Linked DNA regions of Homo sapiens: region 1 is linked to region 2. The links are contacts of gene promoters, found by promoter capture Hi-C in blood cells and fetal thymus (Javierre and others, 2016). All regions are on one chromosome and are shown on one strand. The core of a region is centred on a gene start or on the middle of the fragment in contact, and the rest is flanking DNA. Distances in the headings are between cores, read along the strand shown.

Evidence for each region. Contacts are between HindIII fragments. The CHiCAGO score rates a contact against its expected background, and 5 or more counts as called.
Region 1: a fragment that was not itself captured here is called in contact with the fragment with the promoter of DIAPH2 in region 2 in 1 of 17 cell types (total B cells); the score reaches 7.1 in total B cells.

What each region holds. Positions count from the first base shown.
Region 1 is chrX:97,563,011-97,570,673 of GRCh38, forward strand. The region is part of intron 26 of DIAPH2 (diaphanous related formin 2); the gene reads left to right. It overlaps DIAPH2-AS1 (DIAPH2 antisense RNA 1), which reads right to left and starts at 1,525. Exons shown (of 3, transcript NR_125391.1): 1 at 1,370-1,525. RefSeq lists an enhancer at 547-836. The HindIII fragment of the contact is 4,563 bases long and covers 2,220-6,782 here.
Region 2 is chrX:96,682,391-96,689,963 of GRCh38, forward strand. It overlaps DIAPH2 (diaphanous related formin 2), which reads left to right and starts at 2,452. Exons shown (of 27, transcript NM_006729.5): 1 at 2,452-2,800. The coding sequence starts at 2,669. RefSeq lists enhancers at 2,240-2,955, 2,956-3,669. The HindIII fragment of the contact is 2,760 bases long and covers 1,643-4,402 here.

The sequences.
Region 1 (7,663 bases), core at 3,251-5,750, 880 kb after region 2:
ACAGGAAAATTAGAATTCTGCTAATTGATTTTTTTTCTGTATTTATAATAAGCCCTCATACAATTGAAGCATATCTGAGAAAACTAGAAATCTATTTTATTTATCTTGTAATCTGAAAAGGGAGTGTTATAAAAATTAATAAGGTTTCCTAGAGTAGGAAATAAAAATTTTAAAAATGAAGTAATGATAAACATTAGGCTCTTTAAATATATACGAGGCATATAGAATTACAAATCAACCTGGAGAGACCAATTGGAGGGAATGATGACAATGAAAGTAGATGCATTTTAGGATGTTTGGCAGATTAATCCTTCAGTTTTATCCCTTCAGAGGTATGAGAGGTCAGTAGCATGTCTAAATGTAGGCTTATGTTATTTACTTTTCATCATCACTGTGAGGAAGGGTGAATTTTTTAATAAAAAGAAAAAAACTATCATAGCATGGAGCTTGCTTTTTTTAATTGGCAGATAATTTTACACTTAATATTTCTCTCTCAGCTCCATACGTTATCAGTTTAATTACTCTGAGGCCTCAATAAAAAAATTAAGGAAACTAAAGTAGGAGAGTTTGCAGTTTACACTCAGCTGTTCTGAGTTCACTGAAAGTGAAATGCCAAGCTGCCAGGGATCTACTGCATGAAGCTCTCGTGAGGCTCCTGAGTGGGCCGAGAAGTGGCAGATGAGCTTCGTGTGGATACGGTAAAGCATTTAGTGAAAAATGAAAGTGAAAGAAGCTAGGCTGCATTCACAGGCTGGCAGGCTTTGCCTTCTCAGTTTCAAACTTGAAAAAGGGATCTAGGAGTGACTGGTAACCATTCTGTGAAAAAAAAAAAATTAGCTCAGGAAGGTGTTGTAATCACAATGGTCCACACTCTGCAGATCAGTCTCAGGAAAGAGATTGGCATCCTAACAGAAGACATTCTACTTCCTTAGTACAAGATTAGGGTCCTCCAGACAGGATGAATTATTGCAAGTAATTCTGATTGCTGCTTCTGTTTAAAAACAGGCTGCTGCATCAGGCTAGAGAAGGCCCTTTGTAATGAAGTAAAAATGGGTGAAAATTCCCTGTTATGAAAGACCAAAACAATTAGTGCTCTTCTCTTGGAAAATATAATAGTTGAGTGAGAAGCTTCAAAGAGCTGCCTGGCCCTTCCACTCCTTTTGCCATGTGAGGACACAATGTTCATCCATTCTACAGTGTAAGGATGCAGAGGCTATGCTCAGTGTTTTTGAAATCAAGAAATCATAAACATTTGGATAGGATAAATGCAAACCTATTTACCAAACCCAAGCATGTTGAAACCTTAATCTGTTCAGGCTGCTCTACCTGAGACTGGGTAATTTGTAAACGACAGAAATTTATTGCTTACATTTCTAGAGGCTGGGAAGTCCAGGATCAAGGTGCTGTCAGATTTAATGTCTGATGAGTGTTTGCTCTCTGCTTCCAAGATGACACTTCTTGCTGTATCCTCACATTGTGAAATGGACAAACGCTGTGTTCTCGCATAGCAGAAGGAGTAGAAGGGCCAGGGAGCTCTCTAAGGCCTCTTTTGTAAGGGCATTAATCCCATTCATGAGGATAGAACCCTTATGACTTAATCACTTCTCCAAAGGTCCCACCTCTTAATACAGCTACAGTAAGAATTAAGTTTCAACATAAATTTTAGAGGACTACAAACACTCAAACCATAGTAAAGGGTATCTTTGAAGCATTGCAGAAACAAATGGGGAAAGGGAAGTACCATACATGACTCACAGAACAACTTATCCTGGAAGTTCTAAAGAAATAGCATGTTTAAAAAGTGAAGTGATTCAGGTCAACTCATGCACTATAGATACATGGTTGCTTTGTAAGAGAAACCAAGGAGGAAAAGCCATCCTTTCTACAAAGCATCCCTTGGTGACTCCCACCAAAAATAGAATCACAAGGCTAAATTGATCATGAATTTGGTATTCTTCATGGCTTTAGTTTTAAAAATATTTTTAAAGTATTAAAAGGATTAGTATTGAAGATAGTAATACTGGTAATGGTTTGCAAAGCTTCTTGTTCTTGTCCTACTTTGGACTCCACCTGCATTTACACAAAGTACCTTCCTGTCAAAGTCATGGACCTAGAAATCCAGGCTTAGTGCTTGTGGATGCCATCTGGTATGGGGGTCAGCTTACGGACTTTGAAACTCCACAGATGTCCACCACTTATTAACTACATGATCTTATGCAAGCTTTTTAATTTCTTGGAGGCTTACTCTTCTCATTTGTAAAATGGTTTTATAATACCTATCATACGGGATCCTTTTAAGAATGATTGACGCAATATATGCAAGTCACTTAACACAGTGCATGGTATCCACTAAATGCTAAGTAAACAGCAGCTCTTACTATTGTTGTGAGCTAAGTGAGCTATTTATACAACCCTGGATTCAAAAAGTTGTAATAAATATGGTGGATAAGGTGAGCCCACATTTTCCTAATAAAACTTTAAAAAAGTTTTATGACCATTTTGAGTGTAGCTGGACTTTTAGAAATGTAGACGAAACAGTGAAATGTGTAGTTATGAAATTTAATTTGTTTAGTTATACAGATATATTCAAATTGTAGATGATGCAGAATAATCTCTTCAGGTATGATACTTTGCTTTTCCTCCCCACTATCTCATTTTGTAAAACAATTCTATTGAAACTTCACGCGTATCTCTGACATTGGTGTTTCTAGAAGCACTGGAGCTAATTTTTGTGTCATCTAACAGTTTTCCAGAGCATATTACATTCATGTCCACCTAAGTTTTTAGAGATACAACACTTTAATCTGTGTATCAGAGTATCAATGTCAGGCTTTTTCCGCAAGCCACAAATACTCATTTGCATACCACTAGGTCCATTGGCTTTTCCATTCATCTTGCATGTGTATATTGGTGATCTTCGTTAGGTATTTACTGCAGGGAAATCTTAAGTAATCTTTCAAAGGCTTGTTTACAATGATCTCCAACACTTAGTACTATGACGTCACACCCTGTAAACAATTAATAGGTCTGTGTTAAATTTCATTATCTTAACTGCCTTCCCCAATTTTGTACGTTTACATCATAAGCATCTAAAACCCATATTAAGTTGTTCCAGACTAATGCGTGTTTTCCAGAGAGTACATTATTAAGAATAATTTGGAAAATGTCCCTTGGAATTAAGCACTTGAATGTAAGACATCTTCCTCTTTTTTTCTGCGAGATAACTTGTAGGGAGCAACGGGAAGGTATGCTTTATATTTGTGAGGATAGGAATAGAGATTTTCTTGAAATATTTATCCAATTATATGACTTTAAAATCATGCAAGTTTCTTATTTTTATTCATCGTATATATGTATTAAATGCCAGGATGATCCAAACACATAGAAGGTGAAGTTCCTGCCATTATAGGAATTTTTGGACCTTAGAGAATATCCAATTCCAGAACAATGCATGGAATACTTTGTGGAAAGCATTTGCAGAGAGAAAGCTGTGAGTTGCAGCCCTTGTCCTCAACAACTGACAGCAAATTTGTCAACAAATTTAATTATGTTTATATCAGGCAGAATGTGTTTGAAGGGCCTGCACACGTTTCACATAGGGAAAAGAAAGAGGTGAAGAGAGAAATGTTACATGTAAAAAATTTTACATAGTAAATCATCACATGGAAAAACACATTTTTCACTGGCAAGTAAAGAAATACAACAACAAAGTAACAGGTAGCGACATATATGTATTGTGATGGCTAAGCACTAAGTGAGGTGTTGGAGAAGCTGTAGAGAAACAGGTACAATTTCAAGGTGGTGCCGTTAGGTGACAATTCATGGAAATGTATACATAAAACAATGTTAAGTGAAAGAATTAGATCACAAAAGAGTATATAAACGCTGATTATATCTATAATAATGTGTGTATGTTGACATCTATTGAAAGAGGATTTGAAAGAATGTAAGTTTAATGTTGATTTGAATTTTCTCTCTGTAACAGTGATTTAAATGCATACTAATTTGAAAAGAATACAATGAAAAATGACTCCCCATCACACCCCTAAAACACATAATAACTACACACATCTTGGTAAATAGATTGTGGTAGAATATGATGTTCATTGTTTGTGATGTTGCAACATTATCTATAAATCAAGGACTTAATTGAAGTTGTACTTCCCTTCTTTATCTACTGTAAGTCTGATGAAGCATTTTTTGATCACTGTTTATTATAGTAATGAGAAAAGAATAAATCTTTTCCTTATAAATCCTGACAATCTGCATTTTAAATCCTTGCACAACCTGAATTCTTTGTCTCCACTAAATGAATACAGAAAGTTTAAGCCTGTGATTGCCTTATTTATTCTGCCTCCCTACCTTTCAATAGCTACTCAATAGCTCTTTCTTGACCTTTACCTGTCAGTTAATAGTTGGTACATTGAGATGTGTTTATTAAGTCCAGGCAGCTAAGATTCAGATTTATATGCAGCTAATATGCTGAATGAACTGAAGATCTACTATGTACCACAGATCTTTGCCTGGTACTCTACAAAGGGGACTTCACTTGATCTTGGTAGTAACCATCTGAAGTCTGAACTATTATCCCTATTCTGATGTGACAAAACTAAGCATCAGTTCAGCAGGCAGTCCTCTTCCGAGCCCAGGACAGTGGTCCTTCCCTTGTTCCATTGTGCCTTTTAAGTGGCTAGTCTCAGTGTGTTATAGAGAATAGTATAGTTTTAAACATATAAAATAAATTTGTAGGAAGCAGCATATTTTTAAGGAAGATCTTTTTAAAAAGACAAGTGTGTTGCTTTTTTCCTCATTTAAAAAACTGTATATTGTTGCTATAAAATTTATTTATAAGAGTGGTTGGAGGGAGGCCGAGGTGGGCAGATCACCTGAGGTTGGGAGTTCGAGACAAGCGTGACCAACATGGTGAAACCCCATCTCTACTAAAAAGTACAAAAATTAGCCGGGCATGGTGGTGCGTGCCTGTAATCCCAGCTACTCAGGAGGCTGAGGCAGGAGAATCGCTTGAACCTGGGAGGCGGAGGTTGCAATGAGTGGAGATTGCGCCATTGCATGCCAGCCTGGGCGACAGAACGAGACTCCATCTCAAAAAAAAAAAAAAAAAAAAAAAAGAGTGGTTGGAAATTTTGATACAAAGCAATTCAAAATTATACAAACAATTTGAGTAGAATCCAAACATGAAGCAAGATTTTCTACTACTTTAATAATTTCAATTAAATAAAAGTTAGGAGCTGATAAAACCGTTTGAGGGTTTATTTAAAGGGGAGCATGTTATTGGCATGCTGACCAATAACACTGGGAATGTAATGTATCATGACATGTCAGATAACACAAACAAGGACAGTTTTTGGAAAATCATAAATAACAAAATAGAAGGAGTGTAAAATGGAAGAAGCATCAAGGGGTGGTTGGTACAATAAGATATTAACTCTGAGAAAGTTTTCTAACTCATCACTTAACATTATGAATACTGAATTGGGATGACCACAATACTAGCTTCTGTATGACTCCTTAAATATTGATATTGGAAATGTGCACCACATGATAACCAATATTTTAAGGTGGGGGCAAAATAGCTGCTGGTATGAATCTCTAGAAAGATTAACTTGAAAACTGTCTTGTGTAACAAAAGGAAAGGAGAACATCTGGGAGGAGAAAGGAAATTTCCTAGAAATGGGAAATGTGGCCATAATGTGATTTCTTTCTATAACCCATGTATGCAAAAACATTTATCTCCTTTTACTCTAGTCACACTATGTTTGTGGCTTGCATGAGTAAGAAAGCTAGATGAGGAGATAATTGTTCAGCAAAAGAATTATAGAGTTGAAATCAGTGAAGTGAATGGTATTTTATAGCAAAGAGATCCCTAAAAGTAGGTGGCATAAAGAATAGATGCAAAAAAGTATTGCTTTCTCTTCGAGTTCTAAAGACCTCTGTTGATGACGTTTTGCTCATTTAAATTCCAGAGAATAATTGGAAACAGAGACTTTATGCGACAGAGCTTTCATTTAACTTGTTCACCTGACAGTTGGCTTTGAATGATATTTTATTACCAATCAACCTAAATTAAAATACCCAGCTCACTGTAAAACCCTGCAGACAGTGTCTGGAATGCTAAAACACATACCATATATAAATAAAATTAAGGTAAGGACAAAGATTGACAAAAGCAATGACAGTGAACATTAACATGATATCAGCAGCTTTGAGCTTCTATCAACAATGTGGACCATGATGAAGTTACCAGAGAGGGCAGTATAGATGGATTTTCTAACTTGCATTTATCAGAAGAGATTTTCACTTTTCAATCTTAACTATGTCTTATACCTTTTAATAAAGATGTGGTATCAAACATCGAACATATATGTCTGTACCTACATGTAAATATATATGCATGTGTGTATATGCATAGCCATAGCTATCCATCCATCCATCCCAAAGTTCATCTCTCCAAGGTGCTAGTCCACATAATTGCGTTCAGTTCTTCTCTGGTCTTTGTATAAATGTGTACTTAAGGACTTTGTGGATAGTGCGTGATATAAATATGGTTCAGGCCCATCAAAATGCAGATTATAGGATCCGGTGAACTTTTCCTTACCAAATAACTGAATTCCTGAATGTTGTATTATTATAAAATTACAAAAGTTTCAAACTTACTGCTATTCTCTAATTACTTCTATAGAGTGATTATTATATGGGATCACCAGATGATCATGGTCTGTCATGCTATTGCTATCTTTCTTCATAAATATATAATTTATCAAAGCTTAATTATATTATTATCCAATAAATGAATGATAGAATAATTATGGTTATGTGGTTCATTACGTTATGTCCCATTCTCTGACTGAAGCCTCTCAGTTTCATATCTTTGTTGTGTAGACTATTTATGACAAGTTAAATCTGTTCTCTGGAACTTAGTGTCATCGTCTATTAAAATGAAGGGTTGGATTTCAATTAAATAATTCATAAATTTCCTGTCAGCTCTAAAATTCTATGTTCCATTGATTATCCTCAAACTATTATACAAGTTCATAAGGCCTTCTAATATATATATATATATATATATATATATATATATATATATATATATATTAGAAGATAGATAGATAGATAGATAGATAGATAGATAGATATACTAGAAGGCCTTATGATTAGAAGGCCATATGTGTATATGTATATATACACACACACACATATATATATGTATGTATAGTGTTCAGTTCTTCTCTGGTCTTTGTATAAATATGTTTTATATATATATTTTAAAACACTATATTAATGTGCATGAATTGAGAACTGCTGTGGTATCTAAACTCCTTTCTGCTTGACTCTATGATGAGAGATGAATGAATTTGGAAATATTTAGTCCAAGAAAAGAAAAAGTGTGGGGATAATCAGTCTTCAGGTTTATGATGAATTGTGACTAGCTTTCACTCTCTTGTAAATGATAGACAAAGAGAGAACAAACTGTACCAAATCTCAGAATGCATAATGTGATAGTGCATTAAAAAATGCTGTAGAAGCTGGAGATACTTAGGGAAGGTAGTCATTTGATGCAAAATATCAGTTAATCTCCTCTCTAGTGTGCTTTAAAGCCAGGGAATCTAAAATGGGGGAAGCCAAGGAGGAGTAGAGTTGTTTC
Region 2 (7,573 bases), core at 1,202-3,701:
GAGATTGCGCCATTGCACTCTAGCCTGGGCAATAAGAGTGAAACTATATATATCTTTCCCGATAGCATGAAAGCTCCCTAAGACCAAACCATGTCTGTCTTGTTCACCACTGTACTCATGATGCCTTGCACAGTACCTCACACTTAGTAGGCTGCCAACAAATGTTAACTTGAATCAGACCCTTAAGACTCAGCTCAAACATCATCTTCTTTGGGAAGGTGTCCCTGAGCCTCTGACACTCCGATAGTTACCTCTTTCATGTGCTTCAAAGGCTTCCTGTTCATATCTGTTATAGTGCAGTGCAGTTCTTTAATGGTCTGTCTCTCCCAGTAGGCTCTGAAGTTCTAAAAGGCGGAAACTGTGTCATCTTCATCCTTCTTACTCATGACACTCTGTATCACCTAGTGTACTCTAAGGAGCTGAAGAAATGTCTACTGGGCAGATTACTGAACCATGTTTGCGCTTGGAGGGCCCTCAGCTATGGACCACACCTATGGCACAAACAGGAATTACGCATTGGCTAAACAGGTCATGTCTTTCTGAAGCACCCATTTTGACTCAATTTTTCAGGAGAGGAGACATTTATATAAATTGTGTTTGTGTGTGTGTGTATGTAGTGAGTTGAATTCAAAATATACACTAAACTTTAAGTAAGTAAAACGGGAACTTCAACAAAGCAAAGTTACCATGGGGCTCCTTGAGCACCCTGTTTGGGAGCATGTATTCCCTCTTCTCTGCTGTCCTTTGGTAGCTTGCCACCTTAGGAGTAGAGAAGTCACACCTCCATGATTAAAAAGAAAGTCAGCCGGGCACGGTGGCTCACGCCTGTAATCCCAGCTCTTTGGGAGGCCAAGGCAGGCGGATCACCTAAGCTCAGGAGTTTGAGAGCAGCCTGACCAACACGGAGAAACCCCATCTCTACTAAAAATGCAGAATTAGCTGGGCGTGGTGGTGGGTCCCTGTAATCCCAGCTACTTGGGAGGCTGAGGCAGGAGAATCGCTTGAACCCGGGAGGTGGAGATTGCGGTGAGCTGAGATTGCACCTTTGCACTCCAGCCTGGGCAACAAGAGGGAAACTCTGTCTCAGAATTAAAAAAAAAAGAAAGTTAATGACAATGACAAAGCTAGAATTAAAGCTGTTTTCAGATATCTGGTGTTCTTTTCATTCTACTGCCCAAGTTAGCTGTCTCCTTGCACCTATAGCATGGTCAAATGCATCCTAATGCACTCTCAATAAATATGTTCAGATACAAATTCCATTCAGCATATTAAATTTAGGCCGAAGGGGAGAAGGTCAAAAGGAGTCATAGTCTGGAGATATCTTCAGTAATAGGTGTATGGCATGTTTATAGATTTCATATTTAAATTTACTTTATAGGTAGCTTTCCTAGCATATGTGCTCCTATTCTATGATGGTGGTTCATTCAAATCCTACCCACCCCGTCTAATGTTCTCAGTGTGTACCTTTACTTTTAAAGGGCATCATTTAAAGAGGATGGAAGAAATACAGTGTGGGTACTATATTTTGTCCTGAGGACAAAATGCTAGGTATGACGCAAGGACTTAAGACTATCGTCCCAACAGTGCCCTGCTGCTGCACAAAAACACCTAGCATTTGTCTAGGGATTTTCATTTACAACAAAGCTTTGACACACATGATCTTATTCACTCCCCACAACAACTCTAAACTAGTTCGGGAACCTGAAAATAGCACTCAATTCAATTGCTAGCTGTATGTAAGTGTTTTGGTTATAGAACCTAACAATCCCCTAGGGATTAAGCGGTGGGCGCCTGCTGCTTCAACAACCCTGCAGCAAGGGAATAAAGGAACAACTGTATTTCTTCGGTCACAACGTAATCACGACAACAGAAAGCACTCACTCTTTCCACTCTGACCCACACACAGTCTGTCGAGGCAATTAATCAGCACTCCCGGTGGTTTTCCTATAGGATGCCAGTTCCCTTGCCAATCAAGTCTTTCCACAGACTGTAGCAGGACCACACCCCCGGAGAGGCCTCAGGGAGGGAAGGTGCTGTGGCCCACAGAAGTGAAAGCTGATACTCAGGTTGACCCGCCAGTGAAACTTACAGGCGGATCTTCCCGGGCCTCAGTTTCCCCATCTCTAAAATGGGCTACCCTTCCTTTCTCTTGACTAGTTCCCTCCCTGTTCTCGCTGGGCCACTAGGAAGTGAAATCAGTGCCTAACCGCAGCTGAAAGTGCTCTGTTAGGCTCCAGTCACCGCGCCGGGCATGCTCAGTAGCTGGGGCCGGCTCGGCTGCGGGAGTAGGAAGCAGCTTTGCGCGCCCGGGCGGCCGATGCGGGCACTTTGAAGAATCACGTGTGTTGAGGCCCTCTTAAAGAGATAGGCACCTACTTTTCCCTCCACCCTAAACACCGCCCTGAGGGCGGCGGCGACCGTGGTAATTGCAACTGCTCAGGGGCAGGGCTTGCCCCAGCGCCGAGTAGTGGCAACGGCGTGGTTGCGTCGGGGGTGCCTGGGAGCCTGGAGTCCCGGGGGCCTGAAATCGGCAGCTTCCCGGGCAGACACTCTCTCCCTCAGGAAGAGGTGCCGCCGAGTCAGCGCGGGGCAGTGTGAGCGCCCCGAGGTGCTTTCTCAGTTGAGGAGAGGTGGGGTTACAGGGCACAGGTGACAGGGCCGGAGAAAGATGGAGCAGCCCGGGGCGGCGGCGTCGGGAGCGGGAGGCGGCAGCGAGGAACCCGGTGGGGGCCGGAGCAACAAGCGGAGCGCGGGGAACCGGGCCGCCAATGAAGAGGAAACGAAAAACAAACCCAAATTGGTGAGTGCTCCCGCAGCCCCCGCCGGCCTTAGGGACAGGGAGAGCCCCGGGATCCTCCTGCCATTGAACACGGGGGCACCCGGGGCCCCCTCCCAAGGATGACCGCGACCTCGCTGTGCAACTCGGGGAGCCGCTAAAGGAGTGGCCACGCCGAGGCGCGGAGACGGCGTGGGGGCGGAAGAGCACCCCCTTCTCTACTTAACCCCTTTCTCACTCTTGTCAGCCCGGGAGGCGGTGCGGGAAGGAGAAAGGCCCAGCCCCAACTTGGGGACACCCCGAGTACTGGGTAGGGCTGTTGTTTGTCTAACTTGTGGGCGCAAACCTTTGCGCGATTCCATTCTCCTCCCACTTCTTGTTAGTTGCTGTTTTGCCTCCTAACGCGTAGGGTCCGGGGCAGGGGAACCTCCCTCCTTTTTATTCCAAGTCCTTGGGAGCCCACCTACAGCTTCGCAAATCAAGAAGAACACTATTTATGCTCCCAGTCTTTCTACTTTACCAGAAATCTCAGGAAGAGGCGCCTACGTGCCTTTTTCCTCCTCCTTGCCTCTCTCCATGTGCTCTCCCAAGAAATGTTTCTTTGGAAGGGTGGGGGCGCGTGGGAGTTTGAGGCTGGGTGAGGTACCACCAACTGTCGAGTGTGTGTAATAGGCATAGTCATACAGTACTTCCACTTAGTTGATTAAGAACGCTCAAAAGCAGTAGGCACAAACTGTGCAAATCTCACCGTGCTGATAGTGTGAACCGATGGTAGCAGTCCATTTCCTGCCACTGAATGTGCAGAGGAATGAAATCGATGAGGCCTGGTATTGCATTGGGAAATACTGGAGTTTCCTCAGCTCATCAGAAGGGTTCCGCTTTTTGTAAACTTTCTAATTTGGGTGGTGTGAGGGGAAAGGGTTTTCCTGTACAAATTCAGCAGATACTCCTTAGAGCTGTATTCTTAGTCCAGATCCGAAGCACAAGCCACATGTTGAATGTATAGATTTCAGCTTTAACTACCAACTTGATTATAATAGACAAGGAGAGGGTGACATATAAATAAAGCCGTTTCTTATGGCATCTGGCCATTTGGTTTGGATCCAGTACAAAACTGTGGTTTAATCAGTGATTAAAAATTTAAGTAAAAAGTTAACTGATAGTTTCCACAAATGGTTTGGTACGTCTAGCAAGAATCTGCCACTTTTAAGAAGTATGCTTTCGAGAAAAAAAAAAACACTTATCTCTGTTAGTAGTAACACCTTGATTATATTCTTCTCTTCCCTTTAGCCATTTGTCCTGATTCATCTTTTATGTTTTACTTGCTTTGACAAGGTAACTAGATAGTTATGAGATCGTATCATTTTCAGTTCCTAGCTAACTTCACTGTTCCGGTTCCTAGCTAACTTCACTGTTCCGTGTTGAACATAGCTTGATACGGTAGAACAAGATTTGAATCCAAGAGTTTGTTAATATTAACATGAATTTTCTTTTTTTGCTCAAACATAACTTTTGAGCCTTACGTGATTTTACAAGCAGATGTGTCAGAGTTAACAAAAACAAATTTAGGAAGACATTGTGGCACATTTTAAGGCAAGCAAGTTGACCAAACAGTAAGATTTAGTAAGCTTTTCAGGAAAGAATTCATCTGGGATTCTTAGAAGTTTGCTAGTAAGATACAACTTTACTTAGATGAAATTTTTTTATTTTGAGTATTATGTTAATAATCTCTGAACTAGTCCTTAATTTGTGTGTGTATATGAGTGTAAAGGAGTTGTGGTATGGGATTATAAAAGAGAGCCATATGGTGATAGAAATTATTTGTGTAGGTGATCTTGGGGCATAGGGGTTCTTAAACTCCTGAAATTGTATGAAAATATTTGAGTGTATATGGGTACATTTATTTTTCTGGGCCCCATGGCTTTCATCAGTTTTTCAAAGGCATCCATTACCTATAGAAGAGTAAGAACTATGGCATTACAAAAGATAGAAAGTAAAGGAAAGAATAGTTGATTCCACTCTAAGTTACTGAGTAGGGAAGAAGGGGAAATGGCATTGACCACACAGGTGATTGATATTGAAACGAATTCTTCTAGTGGTAAAAAAGAAGTTAACTACTCAATGTCTACATAGATTAAAATTTCCGCTACAGAGGAAAATTAATTCAGTCGCTCCAGTATAATGGATTCATAAGGTATAAGGCTTGTGTAGTTTGGTTGTTTTCATTTAGTTCCTCAGAATTCTGGAAAAATGGAAATGGAACACATATTTTCTTTTCTTTTTTTTTTTTTGGGACGAAGTCTCGCTCTGTTGCCATGGCTGGAGTCCAGTGGCGCGATCTTGGCTCACTGCAACCTCTGCCTCCCGGGTTCAAGTGATTCTCCTGCCTCAGCCTCCTGAGTAGCTGGGATTACAGGCACGTGCCACCACACCCAGCTAATTTTTGTATTTTTAGTAGAGACGGGATTTCACCATGTTGGTCAGCCTGGAAAGCAGATTTTCTATAGAGAGGAACTGCTTTCATTTATATCCTCAACTTTTTAATGAGTATTAGTGAGAAATTTTTCAGAGTGGCATTTCAACACTATAATGATTTCTATTTAAGATTACTTAAATAAAAATTTAATGGAATTCACTTCAGTTTTTTTCATATAAGCATCCTCATAATGACCCTTTTGTTTTGATTCTTTTAAAATAAGGCATTCCTGTCTTGGACTCATCACATTTTGAATAATGCATTAGTAGTAGAGTTTTGGATTTTATGTAACTATTTTGGTTAGGCCCAGATTGCAACATGTCATCAAACAGCATGAATCTTAGATTAATTTGTAATTTGATGTCAACCATGGAATGCATTTTGTTAAATTGAGTAGAAGAGAAAGCTCTATAAATGTTGTGAAGGAACTACATCTTGAATCCTACTTATTTAAGGCAGTGACTTAACCATTAAGAGAGGCCAATGTTGATGCAGAACACCGCACCCCACACCACACGGTAGTGTAGAGTGACCTAACAGTATTTGATGTTTTTGCATTTTTGACTTTGTGTTCCTGCATAATTTCTGAAGCCTTTGGTTCTTCAAACAGTAAAGTCAAATTAGTTAATTTTTCTGGTTATTATGTAACTTCCTATTTGGTTATTTGTTTACAACTGGATAAATTATGTTTTTATTTATTTATTTATTTTGAGACGGAGTCTCGCTCTGTTGCCCAGGCTGGAGTGCAGTGGTGTGATCTCGGCCCACTGCAACCTCTGCCTCCTGGGTGCAAGCGATTCTCCTGCCTCAGCCTCCCTAGCAGCTGGGATTACAGGTGTGCACCACCAGGCCCAGCTAATCTTTTTTGTATTTTTGTAGAGACGGGGTTTCACCATATTGGCCAGGCTGGTCTTGAATTCTTGACCTCAAGTGATCCACCCACCTCCACCTCCCAAAGTGCTAGGATTACAGGCTTGAGCCACTGCACCCAGTCTTGATTTTTAATGATAAGGTATGAGCAACAATGATTTCATTTATGCAATACAGGTTTACTGAGTACCTACTGTGTGCTAGGCATAATTCTAAGGGTTGGTGATACAAAGATACTTGTAGTCTACTGAGACAGACAGGGAAGTTAATTAATGCTTAAAATGCAATGTGAGCCAGACGTGGTAGCTTGTGCCTATAATCCCAGCTACACAGGCTGCTAAGGCAGGAGGATTTCTTGAGCTCAGGAGTTTGAAGCTGCAGTGAGCTGTGACTATACCACTGTATTACAGCCTTGGCGACAGAGAACCCATCTCTTTAAGGAAAAAAAAAAAAGCAGTGTGATAAGTTGCTATAGGAATATGCATGGTTGGGGGTGGTCATGGAGAGGCATCTACGTAGAATTGCATGCTTGAGTAAGAAAAGGCTTATCGCAGTAGGTGACATTTGCAGCTGAAGGCTGAAGAAAATAGGTGAGGGAAAGGCATTCTAGGTTGAAAAAACAACATATACAAAGGTAAACAGATAAGGGAGCATATCCAATAAAGAAAGTTCACTTAGATGAATATGGCTGAAACAAAGGGTACACATGGTAGACTTGCTAGAAAAGAGACGGGGTCCGGATCATGATGGATCTTGTATGCCATGTTAGAGTTTCAACTTCTTTCTGAAAGTAGGGGTAACCCATTAAAGAGATTAAGGCGGAGAATGACCTGATCAGATTTGGGTTTCAGAAAAAAAAGTACTTTGGAGAATTTCTTGGAAAAGCATGCTAGAATGGAGGCAGGAAGACCATTTAGAAGGAGCAGAGTAGCATAAAAGAGTTTTTGATATTTGGAGACCTGGATTCCAGTTGCAGCTTATCCATTCATTCATTTACCAGCTCATCCATTTACTAGGTGTTTTTCTCTGCACCTCAGTTTCCTTCTGCCACCTCCCTTGCCTCTCCTTAGTACCACACACCCTGAACATCCCCACCAAATCTGAAATGGCCACCCCTTTCTCTTTTATAACTTTCACCCCCTTTCACAGCCCAGCTCATGTCTCAATATTCTCTCACTCTTCCATTAAACACCGATTACTTCAGTTTAGTGAGGGCTTTCCTTCTTCTGGACTCAATAACTGTCATGAGTCTGAATGTTACATGCTGATCTTGTCTCTGCAAATATTTTAAACTGCCTCTGGGAATGGGTCCCATTTTATGTCTATTCTTGAAAACCTGGCAGGCCGGTGCTTGGGTGCAAAACTATTCAGTAAATAATTATTAGCTGGGGATTTTTTTCCCCTATATACCAGGTATTTTGAGAGTGTAAATTGGTGAAAAGAGGCTTTTT